Regions from separate parts of the Homo sapiens genome. Here regions 2 and 3 are each linked to region 1. The links are contacts of gene promoters, found by promoter capture Hi-C in blood cells and fetal thymus (Javierre and others, 2016). All regions are on one chromosome and are shown on one strand. The core of a region is centred on a gene start or on the middle of the fragment in contact, and the rest is flanking DNA. Distances in the headings are between cores, read along the strand shown. Region 1 holds the start of SLC16A6 (solute carrier family 16 member 6). Region 2 overlaps BPTF (bromodomain PHD finger transcription factor). Region 3 overlaps BPTF (bromodomain PHD finger transcription factor).

Evidence for each region. The method cuts DNA at HindIII sites, captures the fragments that hold promoters and counts their contacts. A CHiCAGO score of 5 or more calls a contact.
Region 2: a fragment that was not itself captured here is called in contact with the fragment with the promoter of SLC16A6 in region 1 in 3 of 17 cell types (naive CD4 T cells, naive B cells and total CD4 T cells); the score reaches 6.6 in naive CD4 T cells.
Region 3: a contact is called between a fragment that was not itself captured here and the fragment with the promoter of SLC16A6 in region 1, in 1 of 17 cell types (activated CD4 T cells). The highest score is 5.0, in activated CD4 T cells.

The regions. Positions count from the first base shown.
Region 1 is chr17:68,289,228-68,294,266 of GRCh38, reverse strand. SLC16A6 (solute carrier family 16 member 6) reads left to right here and starts at 3,140. Exons shown (of 6, transcript NM_004694.5): 1 at 3,140-3,181. ARSG (arylsulfatase G) reads right to left here and starts at 2,772. Exons shown (of 12, transcript NM_001267727.2): 1 at 2,699-2,772. RefSeq lists an enhancer at 1,685-1,914 and silencers at 2,774-2,948, 2,315-3,004. The HindIII fragment of the contact is 8,812 bases long and covers 1-5,039 here.
Region 2 is chr17:67,957,771-67,962,809 of GRCh38, reverse strand. It overlaps BPTF (bromodomain PHD finger transcription factor), which reads right to left. Exons shown (of 28, transcript NM_182641.4): 24 at 2,935-3,269. Among named protein-coding and RNA genes, the nearest start is that of C17orf58, 36 kb to the left of the region's middle. The HindIII fragment of the contact is 273 bases long and covers 2,702-2,974 here.
Region 3 is chr17:67,982,470-67,987,508 of GRCh38, reverse strand. BPTF (bromodomain PHD finger transcription factor) reads right to left here. Exons shown (of 28, transcript NM_182641.4): 28 at 3,131-5,039. Among named protein-coding and RNA genes, the nearest start is that of C17orf58, 11 kb to the left of the region's middle. The HindIII fragment of the contact is 242 bases long and covers 2,265-2,506 here.

The DNA of each region.
Region 1 (5,039 bases), core at 1,891-4,390:
CTCTGAAGAGCCAACTTTTTCCCCAAGAAGATGTTGGGGGTCTTCTTAAGGGCATCATGATGGTCTTGCCCACTGTAAAGGAAAGCCGAGAGGGGGCTCTGCCTGCCACTTGGGATCAGGCAGACACAACAGGAGAGGCTAAGAGGGGAGCTGAGCCCTTCACTTGATTTCCTGATTTTTCTGGTCCTGTACTCCAGACTCCAAAGGTTCTTTTGTTCTTATTTAGAACTAAACAGAGTTAGTTTTGTTTGGGGGCAAGGGGGCGTTGATTAGCATGGCAATGCAGTGCTTTCTCTGGAGAAGTTAAAAAAGCAGGGGTTTTCACGCTTGGTCTCACTAGGATTGAGGGAACAAGGTGAAGCCAGCCTCTAACTAGGGTGGGCAAAAGTCATGTTGCGTGACTTTTTTGTGACTAGCAAGGCTGTGCGTAGGTTGGGTTTCCAGCTACCTCTCCATTATTCAAACACAGATGGCAAATGTCATCTTTGGATGAGCTCTAGTGGTAAAAAGTGCTAGTGTGTATCTATAAACATGGTGTAACCTTAGGTCAATCCCTCCAGTGCTCAGTGCCTCCACTTTCCTCATCTGTAAAATGGGAATAATGAGTGTCAACTACAGAAGGTTACTGATGCGGTTAACATTGCATTACATGTATGGCACTTAATGCAGTGTTGAGGACAAAGCAAACATTTAAAAAAGATTAATATTAATAAAATATAAGAATAGTAACACATTAGTAACAAAAATCTATTATTATTATTATTATTATTATTAGAATCATGCTCCCCAAAAGCCAGGTTTCACTTGCTCAAACATTCAGATGTGATTTTTCCAATCATTCATTCACTCCTGAGGATTTAGGTATAATTTGAGTCATTTTTTAAATCAAGAGACTGAAGTACAGAGATTTTATGTGACTTGCTTCGAGTCACTCAGGTATAAATGGCTGGCTGCACCTTTAGGTTCCTAAGACATACAGAATATGCTGTCATATTGCACATGATATTTCCATATAGAGTACAGTAACAGGTCCTAAGTATTAAAGTGTAAGATCCTAAATATCAAAGATTATCTTACAGGCAGCCCTGCATTAGCATGAAGTGTTCAAATCAGTTTCTAAATATCATTATATATGGATCCTTTGAAGAACAACTCAAAAAAGGGCTCTCTCTCACAGGGAGTGTGTTGGAGTCAGCAATTAATTGGCCTTGGTAAAGCATAAATCGTAACAGCAGCAAGAGCTAATGGGTACTGAGGCCTTACCAAATGCCAGTCACTGCGATCCGCACTTTACAAGTACCATAAATTAAACCCTCCAATTCTGGGAATACCACCTCCATCCCCATTTTACAGATCTGGAGAAATTAACGCTCTACGAGGTTAAATTACGCCTACAAGGTTGCAAAGCTGCTCAGCGGCCCCTTGGCTGTACACTACTGGCCATACAAGGCACCCTGTACCAACGAATCTTCTCCCCACTTACACAACCAGAACTTGTCAACGGCAAAGGATGGCATTTAACTCAGGAGAGCCTATCCCAAAATGGTGAGAGAACTCAGCGAGCAAGGAAGGATTTTTATTAAAATTCAGATCGCCGACTCCTCCCGGTGGCGACCCTCCGTGCATGCACTCCCAAACTAGGCTCTCTTGAGTTTCTGACATCAGAACCACATTCTCCGAACCCCAATGAAGGCAGCAGCCGGCGCCAAAGTCTGCATACGAATGCAAATAACATGGCCTTTGCTTCCGAGCAGTTTCCAAATTTGCCCTCGGGATGTGAGGTAGAGACCAAGAAGCTAAGTTTGCGCCCCCGCAGGCTCTGAAATGTCTAGGATCTGACACATGCTTTGTCCCCATGAGGAGCTCCTGAGATTTCGCGTGCATCATCCGCTTAGTTCACGGTGACCTTGGGGTCGGGGACTACGGGATGAGGGGCACGGACTGTCTAAACCTCCAGGTCCCTTACAGAGGGCTCCCCGCGGGTATGGGAGCCATGCACCTGTGCCGACGCCGCCACTGCCTGGAGGGTGCGCGCGCGCCCCGGGCCGGGGATGCTGACTCAGCCCGGCTGCTCACATTCCTTTCGCGCAACGCGGATGCTGTTGCTGCCGCTGCTGCCGGTGCAGCAAAGTGGGGGAAGCAAGGCACCCGCAGCGGCCCGGCCGCTCGCTCCCTGGGGCCCACTGCGACACTCCCTCCCCACTGCCGGAAGGGGAACTGTGGGGGTGCGCGAGTTGACGAAACTGGGGGAAGTGGGCGCTGCAGGAGGAACTCAGGCGCCGCGCGCGCAGCTCACACCCAAACTGGAAGGAACCTGTTCTGCCCGGGGCGGGCGCGAAGCCGCCGCAGCCGCGAGCGCCGCGCGGGATCAGCCCCGGCGCGCGCGTGTTCCCCCTCGCCGCTAAATCCCTAAATCCTCAGGGCGCGGGCGGGACTGGGCGGTGGGCGCGCCGGGAAGGCGCCCGGGGGTGGGGACGGGGACCCGCGCGCTCGCGCCTGGCCGAGGTGCTCCGAGACAGGATGCAGGCACCCCCAACACCCTGCACGCTCGCGCTCCTACTAGCGTTGCAGCAAAGCTCCGGGGTCTGGGCGGGTCACGCGCGCAGAGGCGCACCCGGGTTGGGAGATCGGGGCGTTGTGCCAAGGACCCCGGCGGCGCTGGCGGGGGCGGCCCGGCCCCGGACCGCGACGCGGTTACCTTTCGTGACCCCCAGCCCAGGCGGCAGGCTGGCGGGCGCGCGACCGGCGCGGCTCAGGTCCACGTGGGACGGCGCGCGCGCGCCAGGCAGGCCCCCTCCTTGGCTGCGCTCAGCGCTCGCAGCACATGGTCGGCGGCGGCGCGCCCCCGAGGCCGGCGGAGACCGGCTGCAGCCGGTATAGGATAAGAGCTAGGCAGCGACGCGGGGCCGGGGCGCGGGCGGCAGCACGCACGGCCCGGGTCGCAGGCGGCCGGGGTGGGGGGCGGGGGGAGGGTGTGGCTCGGGTGCCCGAGTCGCGGGAGTGGGTGGAGGGCCCGGGCGCTCGGGCCTCACCAGCCCGAGCCAACTTGCGCTAGAGTCGGGCCCGCCCCCTAAGGGGTTAATCCTTTTCTCATGTTACCGAGCGGCTTATAAGGAGGGGGAGGCCAAGCCTCCGCCTTATTGGGAGCCTTTGGGGGTTTATTCTCTTCCCTTCTAACTTGGTGAGTTGGTTTATTATTTTACATGTTTAAAAGTTTGATTGTGGGATGTGGGTTGTTTTTTAAAAAATATGTGTTGGGGCCTTTTTTTGTGATGGGAGGCGGAGGAGACCACTGAACATCTTCACATTTTGGAGAGGTTATTCCCAAAAATATTCGCTCTGACAGTTAGGAATGCCCAGGGCCACCGGGATGACGCGCTCGCGCCGGTGTGGGTAGCTGAGAGTTGAATGTCCGTGACCCTGGTACAGTTGGGTCCCGGAAGATACCTAAAGGCACGCCTGGCCTTTGAGTGCCCCCTGCCCCGGGTTGGGGGCTCCGGGACGTCGGAAGAGTCGGGGGCTCCAGGCTCAGCCCCTCCGCGGATTTTCCGCATGAAGTTGCCTGCGCGTCGCAGGAGCGAAATGTCAGAGGTACCTTCCTACCCCAGGCTGGCGCGCGCACGCAGGCCGGGCACTGAGGCAGCGCGAGGGAAAGTGGGGCTCCCTGCCTCCCCCGACCCCCAAACACAGCACTCCCTGCGGCGGCCACCGTTTGTCCCCAGCGGGAAGCCGGGGATTTCCCGGCAGAGCGCGGGTCCTCCACCTGGACTGTCAGAACTGTCAGCGGCTGACGGCCGGTCCCGCGCAACTTCAAGGTTCCCGGGCTGCCAACCGCAGGAAAGCGCTGGTGTCGCCAAGCAGTTCCGTAGCAAGGGAAGATGGTTTTGCAGAGGAAATGGGTTATTTCCTTCTAGGTTGTTGTCGTCTTTTCTTTTTATTCCCCCCACCCTAGCAAGACAGGTCATAGAAGTTTGTTAGGTGGCGTATATAAAATGTCACCAAACATGGGGGGCGTCAGTCTTAGAAAAAGCTCCCCGGAGCCAACTGGGGAAGAGCAATTACAACTTGTCAACCTGGAAGCCGGTTTTGTTTGCACGGTTAGACACTCCGTGCCAGCTCCTTCTCGCAGGAGATGGTTTCTACCCCGGGAATGAGATTTCTCAGTGATCTGATTGTTTTTGCAAATCATGGTAAGATAGGTGTCTTGCTTGTAAAAAAGATGCCAAGTGCTTATGCTGAAATCTCTAAACCATGCATCTCCCCATGTCCCAAGCACCGTTATGTGGCATTTTTGGGGTCAACAATACATCCGGCCAGATGATATAATAGAAACCCCTCTTCTCATAATTAAGGGAAGAGTGTCCAAAATAGGAACTTACAGTGTGTAAATAAACAATGCAGCCAAGTGGAAAAGCTCCTTCCAGTGTAATGAGTACCACTAACCCTGAGTTTTCCTTCTGTGGTTTCCGAAAAAGGACTTTCCTCAGTGGAACTCCTGAGGAGGACACTTAAATTAGGGGCTCAGGTTTCAACACCATAGTCTTGTAAAATGGTGACTCGGTTGTAGCCAGTGATTCAACATCGTGAGGCAGCTATCCAGGTTAGGTTTGGAAATTTTTTTTAAATAGAGAATGCAGATGAACTTTAGCCAAATACAGACTGGTTTTGACAACTTGGGCCAGAAACAACTTGTCAAAGCTGTTCTCCGGGCTACGCCTTTAAGAAGAAGAGAAATCCGCAGTGCTTTTGCTCGAGGTCTGCCTACAACAGTAGCCACCCCATTTCCATCCAGAGCCTGCGTTTTGAAACTTGCTCTTAGCTGACCCTGGAATAACACTCTGATGGTCTACAATAATACAATTTTTTTCATGCCCTCGGGCCAAATCTTCTCTCGACAAATTAAATCACAGTGAAACTCCCAAGGATAGCGGATTTCCAAGCCTTTGGCAAGATACCTACTTATTTATTTGTTTAGAGGCAGGGTCTCACTCCCATCATGGGAGTGCAGTAGCGTCATCTCTGCTCATTGCAGCCTCGAC
Region 2 (5,039 bases), core at 1,589-4,088, 330 kb after region 1:
TAGAAGATAAATGGTCAAAATATGATATGAAGAAGAAAACTAAGAAAGTACATAGAGTAATTCAATCTCTACCAGGTTTTCTGAATAAACATTGGAATTTAATCGAATTAAAAATAACCTCTCATAATGGAATATGGCACGGGCCAGTTTTCCTGTTAATATAATGTTTGTGACAATGTGGGCAGTGGCCTGGCTAACTAACGGGCAGGGAACGTGGAAGGAGATGCTTCAGTTCAACACCGGGGACAAGGTGTGGAGAATGATGCAAGGATAGTTATCCAAAGCCTGTGAGGGTCTACACTGCTTGGCAAGGGGGAGCTGTGTAAATGTGTGATTGTGGAGAGCAGAGTGGCCTCTGTAACAAAAGACCTAATGACAAAAGGAAAAGTAAATGTAACAAACGCTTACACAGTGTGTCTATAAGTGTTGATAGGCACTGTGTAGGAACACCATGTCAAAGTCATAGTGAGAATTACCATGAATCACAGGGAACCAGACTGGCCTTGCTGATACCATTGGCACTCTTAGTTCTACCAAGGCATTTCTTGGCAGATTCACCTAGAGGAATGGAAGTCGTCCTCAAGCTTCAAATTGACCTGCTTCATGAATGTGAAGGAATAATATATGGTTATGTAGTTTATCCTGTTACCACTAACTTTTTTCTTTTTTTCTTTTGTCTCGCTGTATAGCCCAGGCTGCAGAGCAGGGGCAGGATCACGGCCCCCTGCAGCCTGGACCTCCCAGGCTCATGTGATCCTCCCACCTCAGCCTCCCGAGTAGCTGGGGCTATAGGCATGCGCCACCAGGCCCGGCTTTTTTTCTTTTCTTTTTTTTTTTTGACAGAGCTTTGCTCTGTCTCCCAGGCTGGAGTACAGTGGCATGATCTCGGCTCACTGCAACCTCAGTCTCCCGGGTTCAAGCGATTCTCCTGACTCGGCCTCCCGAGTAGCTGGGATTACAGGTGTGTGCCACCACATCTGGCTAATTTTTGCATTTTTAGTAGAGACAGGGTTTTGCCATGTTGGCCAGGCTGATCTCGAACTCCTGACCTCAGGTGATCCGTCCACCTCGGCCTCCCAAAGTGTTGGGATTACAGGCATTAGCCACCACGCCTGGCCAATTTTTTGTACAGACGGGGTCTCTCTATGTTGCCCAGACTGGTCTCAAACACCTGGGCTCAAGTGATCCTCCCACTTCGGCCTCCCAAAGTGCTGAGATTACAGGTATGAGCCACGGTGCCCAGCACTTTTTTCTTTTGAACTATGACTCTCACATGATTTTCACTGCCACAGGTGGGGGTCCTCTGAGATAGTTTGTGTGTTATCTCCACAGGGTGATAGGCTGTGTTCTGGAAGGATGTTCAGGACTTGAATTTCAGTTTTCAGTCACTCTCACTGGATTCCCAAACCAGCCTAGTTTGGGACAAGAGATTACGAAACACTCCTTAGAAACACTAACTCATCTCAACTAAAATAGGGAGTGAATGAACCTGGTATACTAAAGTGTTAATAATGACAAAATGAAAAATATAAAATAACACAAAATAATGAGGCAATCTCGATGGAATGGGCACATGTATCTGTGTGCCTCATTTTATGCAATGTAGGTATTTCAAAGAAGTTGTGTGTGAAATCAATTTCTGTGATCTGAATACTCTAAACAGGCCAAAGAAGCCTTGTTATTTAAAGAAATTCTGTAAACAAATCTTTTTAACTGAAAAAGTAAGGAAACTCCTGTTTCAGAAATCATTTAGTATATTTTGCTTAAAGTGAGGCACACTTGTATTAAACTAAAGTAAAAAAAAATCAGTGAATCACGTTCTACTGTTTACATTATGTATAATTTCCAATGAGATAAGATAATGAAAAGTGAAGATGCCTAAATTGATTTCTGTTTAATTCAGCACACAGCTCAATCTGCCAACAAAGAGTTTTCATTTGGCATTTGCAAACAGATTATCATTTAGATAGCACCACCAAAGCAGCTTCAATGTTGCAACTTGAACATCATTAAAGGGACCACAATTTTATTTTAGGAATCAATTAGGTATCCACTTAAGGTAGGCATTAAGCATTCCTAATTCTAATTAATTGATTCTAAATGATCAGTTTTTAAAGCACAATCAGACTTTTTGGTCCTGTAAAAAGTATGGTGGTTAACTGTGGCTTTAAAAAGCTGGACTACATTTTAATGTTCAAAGTAGAAGTTAAATATTTTGTAAAATGATAGTAATGACCAAAAAAATGAAACTACATTTACGGTTTAGTGCCTCTATAATCTTGTTTATATCACCAAATACAAGTCACAACTGTCAAAAACAGCTTCCAGCTGCCAAACTGTTGGACGTTATGCTTGAGGAATGGGGGAAAGGAACACTTTTTGTATTTTTCTGGCTTTTGTCTCTGATAAGAAAGTGGAAACTTTGACAAAAATATGAGTTGCAGTATTTTAATACAAAAAAAAACAACTGCTTAAAATAAAACAATTAAGAAACCGAACCACTCAAATTCAAAACCTCTGACCATTCATGTTCAACTGGTTTCCAGGATTTCATGTATTCGCAGGGCTTTGAACAGATCCCAGAAAGGATGCTCTCCATTTTGGGCAACAGTAATACACCTCCTTCTCCAGACATCAATTACTCACTGATTTGGAGTTAATTCAGAGGGAAGAAGAGAAAGCAAAGGAGCAACAGAAAGCTTGTTTTTGACAGAAAAGAATATAACAAAGGACAATCACAAACACGTGAAATAGCAAATTTTACTTTACTAGCGTCAATGGTAAGAATATCACATGCAAGACCATGGATGAAACATTACTCTTAAATTTAATATTTTCATTTATATCACTCCCAAAATATTCATTTTCTTCAAAATCCAATTTAATAGCTAAACTTTCAAGACAAAAAACTAGAGCTCAAAAAGATCTACTCACTTAGATTCATCATAAGGCGTTTTACAGATACAGTAAAGCTTTGTGTCCTTCTTAGTTTCCTTTGAGGTAGTAGAGATCATTTTCTTTTTCTTGGACTTTGAGCTGGAGTCTTTTTCCTCTTCCCGCTTCCTCTTCTGGGAAGCAGCAGGTAAGGTGGGCGTGGACAGAAGGCCTGTGTGTTGCACAGCAGGTGGAGGGGGAGGTGAAGGTGGAGGGGCTGGAGGGGCTGGAGGAGCTGGTGTCACTGGGGGGCAGGGTGCAGCTACTGCTGTGGCCTGAGCCAACTGCATCAGGTCTTTTTCTTTCTTAATTTTCAGGTCTCTCTTCAGCTCTTCCTGTTATCAATTAAAGACAATACAAGACTATCATTAGAGTCATGTAAATGTGTGATCTGGCCAGAAGATGGTACACTACCCACTCTTGTCAAAGTAGCTCCACAGTTCAGCCTAACGTGAGAGTTTTAGTTAGTTGCAAACAAGAGTTTTCTTATATCTTAAACCCAACTAAGACAACTAGAAACAAAATGAAGACTAGGTAAGAACAACTAGAAAGCTGCTAGTTATCTTCAAAGGAGAGCTGACTGAAAGATGAGCCAAGTGGCTAGGAAGAGCGTCCCTCCTGGCTTGCCCCTGTCCCATCTGGGCTCTTTCTGTGGTTGCTCAGAAGGTGATTTCAAGCATCCTCTCTCACTGGCTGCTTTCTTCTAGTTGCTCTTGCTCTCTGTCCTTACAGTGAGACTGGACATGAACTGGCCTTGAGACTCAAAATGTGGTCTGACCAGCATAAAGCAGAAAAGAGGCAGATTTGCCTTATTTATTATGATGCTCCTATGTCTAGAATTTCAGACTGCAGGGAGAGTAGTGCAACATAACGCACTATTTTCTTTTTTTAAAAGATAACTTTCTTTTCATATATATATTTTTTGAGATGCAGTTTCGCTCTTGTCAATGGTGCAATCTCAGCTCACTGCAACTTATGTCTCCTGGGTTCAGGCAATTCTCCTGCCTCAGCCTCCCAAGTAGCTGGGATTACAGGCGTGCAACACCACACCCAGCTAATTTTTTTGTATTTTTAGTAGAAACGGGGTTTCGCCATGTTGGCCAGGCTGGTTGCAAACTCCTGACCTCAGGTGATCCACCCGCCTCGGCCTCCCAAAGTGCTTTGTTGCCTAGGCTGGAGTGCAGTGGCACAATCTCAGCGCACTCCAACCTCCCCACCTCCTGGGTTCAAGTGATTCTCCTGCCTCAGCCTCCCAACTAGCTAGGATTACAGGCACCCACCACCATACCCAGCTAATTTTTTGTATTTTTAGTAGGGACAGAGTTTCATTATGTTGGCTAGGCTGGTGTTGAACTCCTGACCTCAGGCAATCCACCCACCTTAGACTTCCAAAGTCCTGGGATTACAGGTGTGAGCCACACTGCCTGGCCCCTTTTCATATATTTTTTAAAAAGTTTTAATGAGCAGTGAGGACAACCAGAGGTCACTTTCATCGCCATCTTGGTTTTGGCCAGCTTCTTTACTGTACTCTGTTTTTTCTTTTTGAGAGTGGGTCTCACTCTGTCACCCAGGCTAGAGTGCAGTGGCACAGTCTTGGCTCACTGTACCCTTCACCTCCCAGGCTCAAGTGATCCTCCCACCTCAGCCTCCCAAGTACCTAGCTAGGACCACAGGCACGTGCCACCAAACTCAGCTAATTTTTGTATTTTTGGTAGAGATGGGGTTTCACCATGTTGGCCAGGCTGGTCTCGAACTCCTGACCTCAAGTGACCTGCCTCGGCCTTCCAAAGTGTTGGGATTACAGGCGTGAGCCTCTGTGTCTGGCCAACATACTACTTCCTCAATATGCATTTGCCATACTTTTTAAGCACACCTCTTCTGCTATCTAGTGGTACAACTTACTCTTGGAAATGATCAAAGCAAACCTTATTACCCTAGGAACAAACCCATTGTGATTGGCATCCACAAACAAACTTGGTGTAAAGAAATCATAGCTATGACCAAGAGTATTTCTTATGTGGAGACAGTGTCTCACTTTGTCACCCTGCCTGGACTGCAGTGACATAAACACGGCTTGCTGTAGCCTTGACCTGCCAGGCTCAAGT
Region 3 (5,039 bases), core at 1,136-3,635, 310 kb after region 1:
GCCACTGCGCCCTGCCAATTTGATGGAAAATTTTAATGAGCAAATGCACTATAGTTTCTTATAATCTTGTCCCATTGATAGATTTTTCTTAGCAAATGGGTTTGTGCCTATGTGCACACATTAATAGTCCCTAAATGGAATACTCTCTTGCCTTCAGTAGTAATTCAATAGCATCCCTCCTTCAAATGAAGCTATTATTTTACAATTCAAGGGAAAAAAGTACTTGTTTTTCTTTTTTTTCTTTTCTTTTTTTTTTTTGAGACGGAGTCTCGCACTGCGGAGTGCAGTGGCACAATCTCAGCTCACTGCAAGCTCCGCCTCCCGGGTTCACGCCATTCTCCTGCCTCAGCCTCCCGAGTAGCTGGGACTACAGGCGCCCGCCATCACGCCCGGCTAATTTTTTTTGTATGCTTAGTAGAGACGGGGTTTCACCGTGTTAGCCAGGATGGTCTCAATCTCCTGACCTCACAATCCGCCCGCCTCAGCCTCCCGAAGTGCTGGGATTACAGGTGTGAGCCACCGCGCCCAGCCAAGCACTTGTTTTTCTTTGGGTAGGAAAACGTCTATAAAACACATACACTGTTTGTTTGTTTATTTATTTATGTGAGACTGAGTCTTGCTCTTGTCACCCAGGCTGGAGTGCAGTGGCACAATCTTGGCTCCCTGCAACCTCCACCTCCTGGGTTTAAGCGATTCTCCTGCCTCAGCCTCCCAAGTAGCTGGGATTACAGGCACCCACCACCAGGCCCGGCTACTTTTTGTATTTTTAGTAGACACAGGGTTTTGCCACATTGGCCAGGCTGGTCTCGAACTCCCGACCTTGTGAGCCACCTGCCTTGGCCTCTCAAAGTGCTGGGATTACAGGCGTGAGCCACCACGCCCGACCCATAGCTCTTCACAACTGCCTTGTAAAGAAAGCATCATTTGGCACTGTTAGTATTTCTCTTGAATTTTTTTTTTTTTTTTAGACAGAATCTCGCTCTATCGGCCAGGCTGGAGTGCGGTGGCACCATCTTGGCTCACTGCAACCTCCGCCTCCCGGGCTCAAGCAATTTTCCTGCCTCAGCCTCCCGAGTAGTGGGATTACAGGCATGTGCCACCACAGCCTGCTAATTTTTGTATTTTTAGTAGAGACGGGTTTTCACCATGTTGGCCAGGCTGGTCTCGGACTCCTGACCTCAGGTGATCCGCCCGCCTCGGCCTCCCAAAGTGCTGGGATCACAGGCATAAGCCACCGCGCCCGGATAAAATCATTTTTAAGGCTGACCATTCACACATAGAAACAAACTCATAAAAACTGACCTGCCACCTATAATGCATCACCTCAATTTCAGGAAATATTTGAGCAAGCAATAAATAAATTAGATAAAGCAGGACATTAACATTTTAAAAATATAGCTAATTTTAGTTGAAAATATAGCTAATTTCTTTAGTTGAATTTGGTTCAAATTGGATCAAGCGGTATGATCTTCTGAGAAAATCTTCTAGTATCTCGCTCCAAGTATCCAGAAGTACCTCAGAATGTTTCAAATTATTAAAAATACTTCTCAGCTGGTTCTTACCCCCACCTCCTCAAGTACTTCATTACTTTATCCATGAAATATCACCATTCTCACATTAAGGACAAGAAGTCTGAGACCTACGGTAATAGCTTCAATCATGAAGAGCGAAAGCTGTAATAACCATGTAGCTTTGTCTAAGTGTGCAGAGATCTGAAAGGCCACCAGGTTGGCTCTTTAACATAAAGCAGCAGAGAGTTTGCCTAAAGGAATTAACAGAAATAGGGAAGTAACTTTTATTTGCAGATCCTAGGAAGGTAGATTACAAACAACAGCAAATCTTAGTGTCTCTAAATAACACTCTAGGCCATTTGAAATATAAAAAGGTAATTATTTTCCTTCAGAAAATATCTCCAAAAGCTCACTTTTTTTGAGACGGAGTCTCGCTCTGTCACCCAGGCTGGAGCGTAGTGGCACAATCTCAGCTCACTGCAACCTCTGCCTCCCGGGTTCAAGCTGTCCTCCCACCTCAGCCTCCTGAGTAGCTGGAACTACCGGCGTGTGCCTCTTGTCCAGCTAAATTGTTGTATTTTTAGTAGAGACAGGGTTTCACCATGTTGGCCAGGCAGGTCTCTCCAACTCCTGACCTCAAGTGACCCACTTGCTTCAGTCTCCCAAAGTGCTGGGATTATAGGCGTGAGCCACCATGCCCAGCCACAATTTTATTTAAACCTCCTGCAGAATTTGGATAGGAGAATAAAAGCTTTACCAATAGGAAAATACTTTTCATGAAATGGTTTCAAGGATTGTGAACTTGGCAGGTAAAGTATAACAGGTACTGAAAATACTTTTAGCCAAGGAAATCTATTGATGCAAATTAAATGTATTTATAAGCCCAAGGCCTGGGGTAGAAACATCCTAAGAATATCACAAATGTACAGTTTACTGCCTGAATTATTGGAAGCAAAATAGCTGTATTATGTAGATCTTTCTGAATAGCAGAAGCTTGTCAAAGATTTCTGCTTGTCACAGAAAAGCAGCTTTTGGAATTCATTATGTTCTATAAGAATGTATGGTTTTCAGGCCAGGCGTGGTGGCTCATGTCTATAATCCCAGCACTTTGGGAGGCCGAGGCAGGCGGATCACCTGGGATCGGGAGTTCGAGACCAGCCTGACCAACATGGAGAAACCCTGTCTCTACTAAAAATACAAAATTAGCCAGGCGTGGTGGCGCATGCCTGTAATCCCAGTTACTTGGGAGGCTGAGGCAGGAGAATTGCTTGAACCCGGGAGGCAGAGGTTGTGGTGAGCCGAGATGGCATCATTGCACTCCAGACTGGGCAACAACAGTGAAACTCCATCTCAAAAAAAAAAAAAAAGAAGTATGTTTTTCAAAAATTACTTCTGAAGGACTAAAGCTCTGTAGTTGATGAAACTATAAAATGTCTATGTATTTGTATGGTGATAGAAACTATACAACACTTTATACCGTTAAATACACATATGAAATTAACATCTTCCTGGTTTCAGATTTCCATAAAATTTATCCTTTTTGTACAATTTGGCAAGGCTAACAGCTATAGAAAACATATTAACCAACCAACCATTGCTTCATTAGAAACTGCACCAAATCCAATGTCAAAAACATTACTTTATTTTTCTAGGATGAAATGTCCTATTACGTACAAAAGAATTGCTGTTTAGAATTTGCCACAATTTGTTAAAAACATAGCAATCTATTGCCTACAGGTAGGAAAGTTCTTGCTGCAACAAATTTTAAATGATTAAGCCCATATATATTTATATATATGAATAAATAGTACAGAAATACTGTGACGTGATGAGATGCAGAATAATTTTATAACTCATTAAAATGTAGAATTCTTGCATCAGCACAGTGCATACAATATGTAACATTTTTTAAAAAAGTAAAAGGACAAAATAACCCATATTTAACTACTTCCATCTTAATACTTTAAGCAAAAATTTTTTCATGTTTTCATATTGAGCGATTAGTCTTTAGTTTGTAAGCATAAGTTTAAGTGACATCTTTATGTACAAAAAGGAATGGGCTTCATTAGATAAAATTAACCCAGAATAACCTGTACACCTGAGCCTGTAATAAGAAAGAATCGGGAACTGTAGCAACATCTTTCTTTTAAGAAACTGAGGTCTGGGAAAGGTTTTGCATAGCAGGGAAACATTAAAAGGAAAGAAACTTTGAAAAACAATAATTAGATAAATTCCAGAAGTTGGTAGGACAAAGCTAATATGAGTTAGTGCAAAATCTAGTAAAAATTTTTGCAAAGCTGCATAATCCAACTATGGCAGATTTTATAGAAGCTATTACCACAATGCAGTGATACAACGTGTAAGAACACTGAAAGGAAAAACATGCAAAATACATCTTCCTCTGTGGTTTCCATTTTCTCGCTACTGTTTACACTACTTTTCCTTACGTGGAAGAAACAAACAAACCAACAAACAGAAAACAAACCCAATCAACAAATAACACAGAGGATGAGGTCATCTAAAAAATGCCCTTCATAAAATATAAGTAGCTGTGTGTAATTGGTAATTTGCCTGGTATCACAGAATGTACAGATGAAGGCAATGTGTATCTTGTCGCATTACCGTTCTCGTTAGTATGATCAACTGATGCAACAGGATTAGCACCCCTGAAGATTTTTCTCTGACGTGATGACAATGGACTGGGAATGATAAAACGAGGGGCCACTGCTGTCCTGGAGAAATCCAGGCACAATTAGACTCTTCTGCCTTTCATGACCTTGCAGGCCTCCCTCCCCACAAAGGCTTACAGATAATCATTAGCGCACATTCAAAGACACCTCTGTCTGTGGGAGAAAAATTATCTCCATTTATTTTGTTTCATATACATCCATAGTTGAATTTTAATACAAAAGAAAAAAATTAGAATCTGACAAATGTTTACAAACAAGATACCTTCAAATAGATTTTACTCATTTTAGCCTGGTGCAGAGTAATTGACAAATTGTACTGTTATATTCAAGGCAACAGAGTCTGTAGTCCAGGACCACTTAGCCCAACCTTTATGCAAGCTTAATTTTAATCTACCATGAACAATAAACTCATTGTTGATTCCCAGTTGTGTGTGTGTGCACATGTGTACATAGCAGCTCCTTTCATAGAAAGAAAAGACATCTAGAGGTCGTCTTGTACTTTTACCTACAGGAATCATGATAAGATACAGATGATTATATGTAACCGGGGCTGGATTTTATAAGAAAAAATAATTAGCTGACAAATGAGGGCAGCAATAAAAAAGCGTCTTTTTTGCAACAATAAATAAATACAGTCAAAAGTTTTCTGTGAGACTCTAAACCAGCTTCTTCACTGAAGAGCAGACGTGGCATTTCCATGGAGTTACACTTGACCCCATAGTATCTTTTTTTCTTGCTTTCTTTTTCTTTTTTTTTCAATAAACAAAGTTTTCTCGCTTCTGCCACAATAGTAAAACCATCTGATCTTGACAAGATAATGGTGTCGTTGACTTTGCTT